Regions from separate parts of the Homo sapiens genome. Here all the other regions are linked to region 2. Evidence: promoter capture Hi-C in human tissues and cell types (Jung and others, 2019). All regions are on one chromosome and are shown on one strand. Each heading gives the region's core, a stretch centred on a gene start or on the middle of the fragment in contact. The rest is flanking DNA. Distances are from core to core; before and after follow the strand shown. Region 1 overlaps SPPL3 (signal peptide peptidase like 3). Region 2 holds the start of P2RX7 (purinergic receptor P2X 7). Region 3 overlaps MLEC (malectin).

Region 1 (4,400 bases), core at 1,759-4,258, 310 kb after region 2:
CCCTTCCCCCTCCCCCTTCTTCCCCCTCCCCTTCCCCCTCCCCCTTCTTCCCCCTCCCCTTCCCCCTCCCCCTTCTTCCCCCCTCCCCTTCCCCCTCACCCCTTCCCCCTCCCCCCTCCTTTCCACCTCCCCCCCACCCCTCCCTTCCCCCTCCCCCCTCCTTCCCCCTCCCCTCTCCCTTATTCCATCTCGTTTCAGCTGATGGTGTTTCATTCTCCCAGTTGCTTGGTCGTAGTCATCTTTGGCTTCTTTTTCACTCATGCTCTGTGTTCACTCTGTCAGGAAATCCTGTAGATACATCTTCCAAATATTAATGTATCTAAGACCAGATAACTTCTCACAGCTACCATGAGTTTCACCCCAGTACCAGCCACCATCTTAACTGTCTTTTCACTGGGATACTAAAGTCAGATTTTTAAAGGTGTAGTTCGTGAACAGTGAAATTTACTCTTCTTTTTTTTTTTTTTTGAGATGGAGTTTTGCTCTTGTCACCCAGCCTGGAGTGCAATGGTGCGATCTCAGCTCACTGCGACCTCTATCTCGCGCATTCAAGTGATTCTCCTGTCTCAGCCTCCCAAGAAGCTGAGATTACAGATGCCTGCCACCACAGCTGGCTCATTTTTATATTTTTAGTAGAAACAGGGTTTTACCATGGTGGCCAGGCTGGCTCAAACTCCCGTCCACAGGTGATCCGCCCACCTCGGCCTCCCAAAGTACTGGGATTGCAGGTGTGAGCCACCACACCCAGCCTCAGTTCTTTATTTGATATGTATTTTGCAGAATTTTCTCCTGGTCTATGTCTTGTGTTTTCATTTTCTTGACCAGTGTCTTTCAAAGAGCAGTTTTGTTTTGTTTTTTTTCTTTTTTGAGGCAGAGTCTCCCTCTGTCACCCAGGCTGGAGTACAGTGGTGCAATCTCAGCTCACTGCAACCCCTGCCCCCTAGGTCCAAGCGATTCCCCTGCCTCAGTCTCCAGAGTAGCTGGGACTGCAGGTATATACCATCATGCCGGGCTAATTTTTGTATTTTTAGTAGAGACGGGGTTTCACCACGTCTGCCAGGCTGGTCTCAAACTCCTGACCTCAAGTGATCCGCCTGCCGTGGCCTCCCAAAGTGCTGGGATTACAGGCGTGAGCTACCGTACCCAGCCAAAGAGCAGCTTTTATTTTGATAAGGTCTGACCTATCAAATTTTCTTTTATGATCTGTTCTGTGTTTTAAGAAATTTTTAACCTAACCCAATGTCACAAAGATTTTTCTGTTTTCTTCTAGAAGCTTTATGGATTTCAGTTTCACATTTAAGCTTATGATCTGTTTTTGCATACAGTGTGAGGCTTTTTGTTTGTTTTGCATATTTACATCCAGTTGTTCAAACACTGTTTGTTGAAAAGACTATTCCTAGTCTGGGCCCAATAACTCATGCCTCTAATCCCAGAACTTTGGAAGGCTTGAGGCAGGAGGATCACTTGAGCCCAGGAGCTCATGACCAGCCTGGGCAACATAGAGAGACCCCCATCTCTACAAGAAATAAAAATAAAAAACTTAGCCGGAAGTGGTAGCACACACCTGTAGTCCCAGCAACTCGGGAGGCTGAGGCAGAGGATCTCTTGAGCCCAGGAGTTCGAAGCTGTAGTGAGCTGTGATCACGCCACTGCACCCCAGCCTAGGCAACAGAGCAAGACTCCATCTCTAACACAAACAAAAAAGACTTTCTTTCCTCTTGGAACTTTTGTTAGAAATTCATTGGTTATAAATTTGTGAATTTCTGGAATCTATGTTCCATTGAACAGTACGTGTATTCCTCACCAATTCACACTATAAATACTGTAGTTTTATAGTAAGTGTTTAAATCAGTTAATGTGAATCCTCCAACTTTTTTTCCCCAAGATTGTTTTAGCTATTCTACTTCCTTTGCTTTCATACAAATTTTGGAACTAGCCGATGGATTTCTGCAGAAAGGAATTTTGTAGTTTTCAGTCTCATTGATTTCTGCTCTGTATTACTTCCTTCCTTCTATTTGATTTGAGTTTAATTTGCTCTTTTTTTTCTAGTTTTTTTTAAGGCAAAAACTTTGATTTTTGAACCTTTTTTTATTTTCCAGTATAATCACTTAATGCTGTAGATTTGCCTGTATAAACATTGCTTTAGCTGCCTTCCACATATTTTGATATGTTTTGTTTTCATCCTCATTCAGTTCAAGATATTTTCTAATTTTCCATGTGATCTCTTATTTGACCCATGGGTTATTTAGGAGTGTGTTTAATTTCCACATATTTGGGGATTTTCACAGATTTTCCTTTGGGTGATTTCTAATTTAAATTGTAGTTGGAGAGCATATTTCGTATAATATCAGTTCTTTTAAATTATTTGAGACTTAGGCCAGACGTGGTGGCTCATGCCTGTAATCCCAACACTTTGGGAGGCTGAGGCAGGCAGATCACCTGAGGTCAGGAGTTGGAGACCAGCCTGGCCAACATGGCAAAACCCCATCTCTACTAAAAATACAAAAATTAGCTAGGTGTGGTGGTGTGCACCTGTAGTCCCAGCTCCTCGGGAGGCTGAGGCAGGAGAATCACTTGAACCTGGGAGGCGGAGGATGCAGTGAGCCAAGATGGCACCACTGCACTCCAGCCTGGGCAACAGAGTGAGACTTGTCTCAAAAAAAAAAAAATTATTTGAGACTTGTTTTTATGGGCCAGTCTGGAAAATGGTCCATGTGTGGTGTTTACCATTAGCTCTTGGAGGGTGCGTTTTGATTCATGATACAACTTAATGATCCCAGCTGAGGCTGGGGGGCACAAGCCAGGTTGAGCTAGGGAGTGTTGTAAAATGGTTTAAAGCATGACCTCTGGATCTAGAACCAGGCTGCCTGGATGGGAATGCTAGTTCTTCTTCCTTGAAGCTGTGCAGCTGTTTGACCTTGGACAAACTAGTTCATCTCTCTGCTTCAGTATCCTCATCTCTAAAGCTGATAGTGGAAGTATGTTCCTCAGGGAGAAGTTGAAAAGATGAAATGAGGAAAATGTAAACAGCTTGTATGAAGTCTAGCAACTCAGTAAGAGCCCCCAAAGTATTATTATTATTATTGTTATTATTATTATATTATTATATTATTATTATTATTATTATTATTATTGTTCCTGTTATTATAGCAGCAGTTATATTTCTTGGTCTCATAGGCCTTTCAAATAAGTTTTGTCTGGCTTCTTGGATAGTTTTTAAAGAACTACTTCCCTGTTAAGGGTATTTCTCATGTTTATTATATAAAGAAGTTCAGATAACTTTTGTTTGGCTGTTTGTGGCCCCCCTATATAGAGGAAAACATAGTTTGGAAAAATCTTTAAAACCCACACTTTCAAAATACTGTGATTTAAACTCTAACCAAGAATTTGACTCCTGCTAAGTCAAGTTTCCTCTGAAAACATTCTCGGGGTTGGTAGAAATCACCAACTGGAGAACAGAGTCCAGCACCCTTTACAGCTACCAAATAAAAATAACCTCTTCCAGTATATGACTTTTAAATTTTGACACTCATTTTATGAATGTCTCAATTTTGTCAGGATTAATTAGAAAATTCATAAATAAAATCACCCAGGGCATCTCATTGTTATTTTAGTTTCAAACAGTAGATTGTATTGGTGTTTTCTCCCCTCCTGGAGTCCTGGACAGCAGGACTCCAGGTATAAACTTAGGTGAAAACTCCAAGACATTATTTAATGTGAATCTTTTTAGAGAAGCTAAAGATCAAAGACCTTAGTCATTGATCCTTTGTATATACTTCTGAAAAACGAGGGTATTAAATATTCTTCTTATTGCTAAGGCCAGAGACAGCTGAGTGTCTGCTTTATGGAGCGATTTTGCAGAGACTCTTATCACTTACTAGGCTGTGTAACACTGAACAGGTTTCCCCTGGCACTGTTTGGTGGTGCTGTTTGGGCTTGCTGTTAGGTAAGCTTTAGGCCAGGTGGAGGTGATCCGTGTCAAGGGTTCTGCCTTAAGTTGTGACCTCTAACTGTCTCTGCCACATACATGAGTGCCTAAATTGGGATTTCGATGCCCAGTCAGGTATCCAGCACTGTTAGAGGGCAAGGCAGGTAGGTCTAGGTTTGAGTTTGTCATAACCCATGGAAATTTTGACTCTTGCCCTGCTTTCTTTTTTTTTTTTTTTTTTTGGAGACAGTTTCAATCTTGTTGCCCAGGCTGGAGTGCAATGGTGCAATCTCAGCTCACCGCCACCTCTGCCTCCCAGGTTCAAGCGATTCTCCTTCCTCAGCCTCCTGAGTAGCGGGGATTACAGACATGTGCCACCATGCCCGGCTAATTTTGTATTTTTAGTAGAGACAGGGTTTCTCCATGTTGGTCAGGCTGGTCTCGAACTCCCAACCTCAGGTAATCCTCCTGT
Region 2 (4,093 bases), core at 127-2,626:
AAACATAGTTAACATATGACCTAGCAATTTTTACTCTTAGGTACATATTCGAGAGAAAGGAGAATATATATCCACATAAAACCTTGTACACAAATGTTCATGTGGCATTATTCATGATAGCCAAAAAAGAGAAACAACCCCAATGTCCATCAATGGATGAATGGATAGAAAAAAGTGGTCTATCCATGCAATGGAGTACTACTCAGCCGTAAAAAGGAATGAAGTATCAGCCGGGTGCAATGGCTCACGCCTGTAATCCTGACACTTTGGGAGGCCGAGGCAGGCAGATCACTTGAGTCCAGGAGTTTGAGACCAGCCTGGACAAAATAGTGAGACCCCGTCTCTTTAAAAAAAAAAATTGAATGAAGTATCAACACATGCTACAACATGGATGAGCATTGAAAACACGCTAAGTGCCACAAAGGACCACATATTATGTGATTCCATTTATATGAAATGTCCAGAATCGGCAAATCCATAGAGGCAGAAAGGAAATTGATGGGTGGGAAGGAGGAGGAACAGTGTTGGAAATGATGGTGAAGGAGTGTGGGATTCCTTTTGAGTCGATTAAAATATTCTAAAATTGATTGTGGGGATGGTTGCACAACTCTGGGAATAATCTGAAAATCATTAAATGGTACCCTTTAAATGGGTCAATTGTATGGTGTATAAATTATATCTCAGTAAGTTTCTTTTAGAAGAAACAAAAACCAAAAAGCAGGGCCTTCCTGACGTTGGTGAGGACCTAAAGTTATAACACATTTTCAAGCCTGGTCCTATTCCTCCCAAGCATGGTGACTCAGATGCCAGCATGATCACCAGGCGTGCCCTGAGATCCTCGCCTCCTCCCTGGGGATCCAGGGTGTTGCCCTGCGCTTTCCTACCTTCCCCAGGCACGCCCTGCCCTGCGCGCCCTGGCGGGCCTGAAGTAGAGCAGAAAGGAATCCCGCTTGTCCTGTGGCTTCTCTCTGCTGCAGCCTGGCACCGTTTCCTCTTGCCTGCTGCTGCTTCCTCCCTCCCGCCCAGCTGGCTGTGAGAGCACGTCTCAGATTCGAAAACCATGTGAGATTCAGAATGTGCACCTGAAGCTGCCCGCTGGGGCTTTCTGTGCTGTCGGCCACTGCAGAGATCTGGGTCCTCCCCAGATCCCACTTACCAAACGTAGGAAAAGATGATCACGTGGAAGAACCACTTAATGGTGCCATAATTCATGCTCTGGATCCGAGTGACTTTGTTCGTCTCATACTGGAAAACATCACTGCAGCTGCAGCAGGCCGGCATGGTGACAGCCTCCCTCCCTGCGCGGAGCTGGACCAGAGCTCTACTCTTCCTGACAGGGCCACAGCAAGCCCCCTCCCAGTAACTGCAAAATGAAACGTACTGGTTTTTAGCAGGAGTCTTTAACTTCAAGCTCCTCCAATGACTGCAGAGTTGGGGCGGGCCCTGGCAGTGGCCCCACATGTGGCTGTGATAAACAAGAAGCGCCAAGTCCTACGGGCCTGGCTGGCAGATGACCTCACCCCAGCTGGCCTCCCCCAGATGCCTACACAAAGATGGTGTTCAGAGGATGGGCATTTTTAGAATTCTCCCTTTTCCCCCCTTTCCTTTCACTTTTTTGGTCTCATGTCTCTTGGGAGAAAGGGGCAGCCTTGCAAATGTCACAAGACTGGGAGCTTCCATTATGCCTCAGAAAAGGACTGAGATCTTTCCATTGCCTGAAGCCCCACTCAGAGATTGATTCATTCATTTCTACAACCCTTTATTCAGCCCCTGATGTATAGGAGCTCTGGGTAAATGAAGATCTCCCCCTCTTCTTCCACCGCCCCTTATAATACTCTGGTCTGCAGTTGGTGGGGGAAATCAGATTTGCAGGGGTAGGGGTGGTGGGGGTGGAGGGGCTTTATTTTTCTGCCAGATCTTTCATGCTTGACCCTCTGAGTTACTCTCCACCCTCCTCTGCACCCCGGCAGGTCGATCTATGACCTAGACCAATCAGCCAAAGATCACCAGGGACACAGTGGCAGTCCAACAAAGTTAGGTTTGTTGACCTATTCAGTGAGGGACACCACCCACCAGAAGAGCTACGCACATCACCAAACAAAGGAAAACAGCAATTTATTATAGGATTCCGAGGAAAGTGGAGTTGAGATAAAATCTAAATGAAGTCATGTTTTGATGGACTCAAAGCAAAACAGGTTTGTACAAAGCAGTCAACTTCAGTCTGGATTGCAAAGAGGACCCAGGGCCCTGTTTCCTAGGAAGCAACATAGCTAAGATACATGTCAAATGTGTCCAGAAAATCTTTATCTGAAGCTCTGCTCCTGAGTTGTAAATTGAGGCTGCTTCTCTGTGTCAAGATGACTTAAATCTTCCAGGCAAAATTGGAATATTTCAGTCTTAGTCATGTAATTTCAAACAGCAAAGTTTCTGAAGGTCTCTGATTTTAAAGGACAATGTTTCAGCAGTCACTCAAAGATGCAGGGTTGTATTATCACTTTACAGCTACAGAGAATTATTGTTCCCTGTTATCTTTACAGCTGGCTTGATCCCTTTCTGTTATTCCAGCCTGCTAAGTGGCCGGGTAGATTTTCAGTTTTTCAGTCTAAACTAATTGTACTTTCTCACACATACAAACTGCATCAGGGTTCCCCTCACCTTCTGGCTTCCAGTTCAGGAGACTGGAGAGCAGTGAGGATGGACGTGACTCCCTGGCCCTGCCCTTCTCAGTTGCATATAGGCAGGGCTTCTGGGCACCACTCCCTCCTTTAGTCCTGGGAGTGGTAAGGGCTCCCCACTCTTACCAGCCCCAGGAAGCTCACTATCTCCTATTGCTTTTTCTTAACTCTGTCCACACCTTTGTAAATGGTTCCATCATTAGTTACCCCACTTGAGTATGCCATTGCTTTCCTGCCGGGAATCTGAGTGATACGGTCATCTTCATCTGTAAAAAGAGGAGATTCACAGGTAAAGCCTGATGCTTAGAACATAGGCTCTAGGGGACTAATGGCCTGGCTTCCGATCCTGGCTTCACATCTTACCAGCTCTGTGACCCTGGACAGCTCTGTTTATGCTATTCATTCACTCATTCCCAAGAGCACCAGGAATAGTAGATATGGCAGTGAACAGGCAGACAAGTCAAATGTCCATCAGCTGATGGATGGATACACAAAAGCACGAAAGCCCATACAAGGGAATATTATTCAGCCATAAAAAGGAATGAAACACTGACCCATGCTCCAACATGGATGAACCTTGAAAACACTACGCTTAAGTGAAAGAGGCCAGACACAAAAGGATACATCTTTTACGACTCCATTTATAGGAAATGTCCAGAATAGGCAAATCACTTCAGTGTTGCTCTTGCTACCACTCAAAGACATCTATTTTCTTGTCTTTCTTTCTTTCTCTTTTCTTTCTTTCTTTTTTTTTTTTTTTTTTTTTTTTTGTTTTTTTGAGATGGAGTCTCCCCCTGTTGCCCAGGCTGTAGTGCAGTGGCAAGACTTTGGGTCACTGCAACCCCTGCCTCCTGGGTTCAAGCGATTCTTGTGCCTCAGCCTCATGAGTATCTGCAATTACAGCCATGCGCACGCTCAGCTGATTTTTGTGTTTTTAGTAGAGATGGGGTTTCACCATGTTGGCTAGGTTGGTCTCGAACTCCTGGTCACAAGCGATCTGCCCGCCTTAGCCTACCAAAGTGTTGGGATTACAGGCGTGAGCCACTACACCCGGCCTGTTTGTTGTCTTTCTGCTGCACTCTTGCACTGGTCCCTCATGCTCTCCCCTCTCCACTCCTTCAGCCCTTGTCCGCTATTTCATCACTGCTACCTCCTCCACTCCATGGATTCTGTTCTCAAAGAGGTTACCAAAGACTTCTCAGTTGCCAGACTGGGTGGATATATTTTATTCCTTATGTTACTTGATCTCTTGGATGCATTCAACATCACTGGCTACTTTCTGCATCTTGGACCAGTATTTTCCCTTGGTTTCCATGACTTTCCTGGGTCCCATGTTCTCCTGGTTTCTCATTTGTACTTCTATGACTCTTTATCTTATCTTTCTTTTTAAAAAATTAATTTAATTAATTTATTTTAGA
Region 3 (3,853 bases), core at 856-3,355, 440 kb after region 2:
CAGACATCTGCGTCATCCTCCCAGAAATTCAACTCAGGCCACACTTCTGGCAAAAGAAGTTTCACCCTGACTGTCCTTGTTTTCAGTCAGCTGGGCTCAGTGGGATCTAAAAACCTGGGACAGAGTGTAGATCCAGTAGAGGAGCCCAGGCCTCTCCTCCACGCACCCCTCACTGGCACCCCTCACCATCTCCCATACATTCCCTATGGTGCAGCCTCTCAGTCCTAGCACTAAGCTCAAAATACAGATAAGAGAACAAACAGTGCAAAAAGCAAAAGGTGAACAACAGAGTAATTCTTGACACATACAATACAAAAATAAAAATAAAGAATCCCACCCCTTTAACCTAAACTTCATGTACCTATATCTTGGAGGAGCCACAAAACAAAAACAAAAACAAAAAAACTTTCAAGTTCAGCATCATGAGCCAGCTGTGACCAGCCCCAGGGAGCTCTTGTTAGCTGGATAGGCTTGGCTCCAGGGGAGTCTACCCCAGCCCCCACCATACTTCTTCCTGTTTCCTCACTTCCCCTTTAGTTTTTGTTAGCCATAGAAAGATGTTCCTTCCTTTCGTTCACAACCAGAGAGGAAAGCGCCCATCCCTAACCCTGAGCTCAGGGGAAAAGGGTGGGCTTGGAAACAGAGGCAGAAGCAAAGCTGCTTGGCTTACAGTACCATTAGGAAATGGCCCCAGGAGTCAGGGTTTCCTTCTGAGACTCTGAGTCACTGAAGGGATGTGTTGAGGTGGAAGGCGGGACCCCCTCCTTCCTCAGACAGACCCAGGCAAACTAACAAACAAGGCAAAATGGAGGCAGCCAGTCCTCCTCCTTCATCTTGACTAACCCAATGGCAGTGGCCCAGGGCTTTGGGGAATTTCGATGGGATAGGAACCAAAGCTACTGCCAGAAGCCTGTTTAGTTAGGATGTCCACTGCCCCAGGCAGGTGGTCCCCAGGACCAAGGCTACAGTACCTTATCCTTTAGAAGCAGGGGAGCTGTGTGAAGCACTATGGGAAGTATACCTCTGACTGCAGCCTCGGGCCACAACCCTCCAGCTGCCTGACTCAATACCCTAGCACTGAGACCCAAGTCACAGCGAAAACAACAGGCTACAATTCTCAAACGACTAAATGCTGGCCTGGAGTAATCATTAAAGAGCCAAAACCCAGGACATGAGCCCAAGAGCTACCTATTTTGTCACATAAGGAGCAGTTCAAATATACAGAGCTCTTAAAAAACATATCTAATAAAGCAAACTCAAAATTAAACACATTCTAGAAAAGCGGGCCTGGCCTGAGATCCTATATTGACTGCTCCAGCCCAAGCTGAAGCTAATCCTGCTGTCTCCCATCCACAAAATTCCTTCTAGCTTGGCTGGGTCCTCCTTCATTGTTGCCCTAACTGGGAAATGGATGACAATGGCCAGAAAGGAGGGGACCAGGGAAGCTTCATTTCCTATAGAAATTTTTTCAGGGAATTCAAGATCGACACTTAGATGCTAAGGTTAGCTTCAGAGCTGCCAAGGCTCTGGCTGACTGGAATTCTTTCAGTCCCATCACACCAAGAACCTGACTGCTACTTGGATAGAGAAATGAAAGGACAGGGGAAGGAGGGGCATACTATTAAGATCAATAAGAAGCATCGCTGGGCCTATATAGCTAATTAGTCTAGTTCCTTGAAGTAGCTCTAGGCATAAACCAAAACTGGCTGAACTGTGACACACAAGAACATGGGAATAAATGAACATCAGATACCAGACACTCTAAACAGTGGTCAGTCACTTAGTAGGGCTCAAATCTCTGAGGTTGCTCTTAAGCTATGCTAACATAAGCCTTTTCTAATCCAAAGACCAGAAGAGACTTTTAAGGTCAAGTGTTCTGTTGCTGCAGGCTGGAAAGCATCCCTGCCCCCTGGCAGCAAGGCCCTACAAAGGGGCCAGTAAAGAACTGCTGGGTCAGGTCCTCCTGGCTGCTGGCTCAGAGATCCAGGGAGGGAGGTACCAACAAGGTGAGGTGGTAAAGGAGAAGACATTCAAGCAGAGAACCCCAAATCCCCGTGTCTCCTTCCCTTCTTGGCTATAACTTAGTGGGATGGTTGAGAGGGAGAAGAAATTTCAAATGAGCCAGATTAAGGAAACAAACAAACAAACAAAACTGAGAAGAAATCAAGTCCCCAACAGGCACTGAAATCAAAATGATTTGTTGTGGTAACAAGTCAGAGGCGATCTGAGGACCCGACATAACCGAAACGTCTTGGATGCTGGACAGTCTATAACTGGCACATGCCAGGGAGACAAGCAATGACAAAGCTCAAACACTAAAGGTGGGACCATCACTGGATTAATCCAGAAAGGCTTCCAGATAAGGAAGCATTTTCTTTCTTTTTTTTTAATCTCCCTACTTTTTTTTTTAAGTCTTTACCGCACAAATTCTACCCCTTCACACACATTCTTTCAATCCCAGGACGTCTGAAGTCTTATCTAGACATAACTTCAGACCGTACCTAACTCCCAGTGCTGGTCGTCTCAGGTAATAAGATGGCATTTCCCTGCTGTTAATTTCTAACCTAAAAAAAGGAACAGTGACTCCTCTGAGTTCAGAGTCCTTTCCACTAGGTATACAAATGAGGATCCTTGAGCAGGAAGGATCCAGTTTACCCTAAGTATCCTCAAGAGGAAAGAGAAGGCTGGGAGCCAGCCACAAAGAGAGGACGAGGACTGAAGCACGTCTGGGACCAGGTGGTGAATGAGGGCTGCTCTCTACTCGCTCTGCCTCTTTTTGTCTCCTTTAATTGATGTGTGTTTTTTTCTCTTTGTTTTTGTTCATTAATCATTGTGAAAAATACAGAAACCAAAACCAATATGGCTGGTTTCTTTCCCACACCCCTCCACCCTGTTCAGGATAGTCATTTGTTCTCACAACCGGCAGAGGCAGAAGAGGGTTGGAATGAAGACTCCGAAGGCCACCAGGATGGGAAACATGAGGCTGCTGTTGTCCGAGGCATAGGGGTTGGGTGTGCGGGGGCCTGACTGCACCCGGTTCTTATTGGTCTGTTTTTTGAGATTAGACCCTTCATCATATTCTTCTTCTTCTTCTTCCTCTTCTTTCTTCTCCAATCCCGGATGAGGCTGAAGCTTTGGTACATCTAACACAAGGAAGAAAACACTGTTAAGACCCACAGCATTTAAGTAAGAGAGACCCTTAAAAGCAGCAAATAAGCCACAATAAAGAGATTGCTGTGATTGAACCCGGGTCCAGAGAAAAGACCAGAAGTAGCAGAAATAGCCTCTGGTCTACAGAACAGCAGAGTGCTGCAAAAGCTTTAGATTTAACTAGAAAGTAGAAAAAGCCGTGCTCATAGGGAGGTTCACTATCTTACCTTCCTGTTCTACTTTTACAGAGCCCCAAGATAACCAGACTGGACAGGGACAATGATCCAATGCCTAAACTTTAGCCTTTTCAAATCCCTCCTCCTCCCACAAGCCCACATTCCCTTTTGATTCACACAACAACTGAAGAAACGTTGACCCAGAGAGTTCTGGGTTCCCAGCACACACTATCCCTCTGTCCTGCCTCCTCCTCAGGGACTTGAACACAGGTCTGTTTGGTGGTAAGACATTCATCCTCCTAGATGTCATAATATCAGCATTTGGGGGACATCAAGACAACAGGATGAAATCCTCAGTGCATTCAAGATTGAGTTGGGGAAAGGTACAGAGGTGGAATGGGGGAGAAATGTCACAAAGACGCAGCTTTCTCTGCAAAAATCAGCCTGAGATGCTGGCAGCCAGGAGAATCTAAACCCTGAGAAAGAAATATACTCTAAGACTTGATCCCAAGGATAAGGAGACATAA

What was found. Contacts are between HindIII fragments. The study calls those that stand out against the background at their distance.
Region 1: a contact is called between a fragment that was not itself captured here and the fragment with the promoter of P2RX7 in region 2, in 1 of the 25 tissues and cell types used here (dorsolateral prefrontal cortex).
Region 3: a contact is called between a fragment that was not itself captured here and the fragment with the promoter of P2RX7 in region 2, in 2 of the 25 tissues and cell types used here (H1 embryonic stem cells and spleen).

The regions. Positions count from the first base shown.
Region 1 is chr12:120,826,063-120,830,462 of GRCh38, reverse strand. The region is part of intron 1 of SPPL3 (signal peptide peptidase like 3); the gene reads left to right. Among named protein-coding and RNA genes, the nearest start is that of SPPL3, 76 kb to the left of the region's middle. The HindIII fragment of the contact is 3,442 bases long and covers 1,288-4,400 here.
Region 2 is chr12:121,130,159-121,134,251 of GRCh38, reverse strand. P2RX7 (purinergic receptor P2X 7) reads right to left here and starts at 1,376. Exons shown (of 13, transcript NM_002562.6): 1 at 1,157-1,376. The coding sequence starts at 1,281. All of the region lies in intron 2 of LOC105370032 (a long non-coding RNA gene), which reads left to right. The HindIII fragment of the contact is 21,026 bases long and covers 1-4,093 here.
Region 3 is chr12:120,695,606-120,699,458 of GRCh38, reverse strand. MLEC (malectin) reads right to left here. Exons shown (of 5, transcript NM_014730.4): 5 at 1-3,143. The coding sequence ends at 2,914. Among named protein-coding and RNA genes, the nearest start is that of MLEC, 10 kb to the right of the region's middle. The HindIII fragment of the contact is 3,246 bases long and covers 483-3,728 here.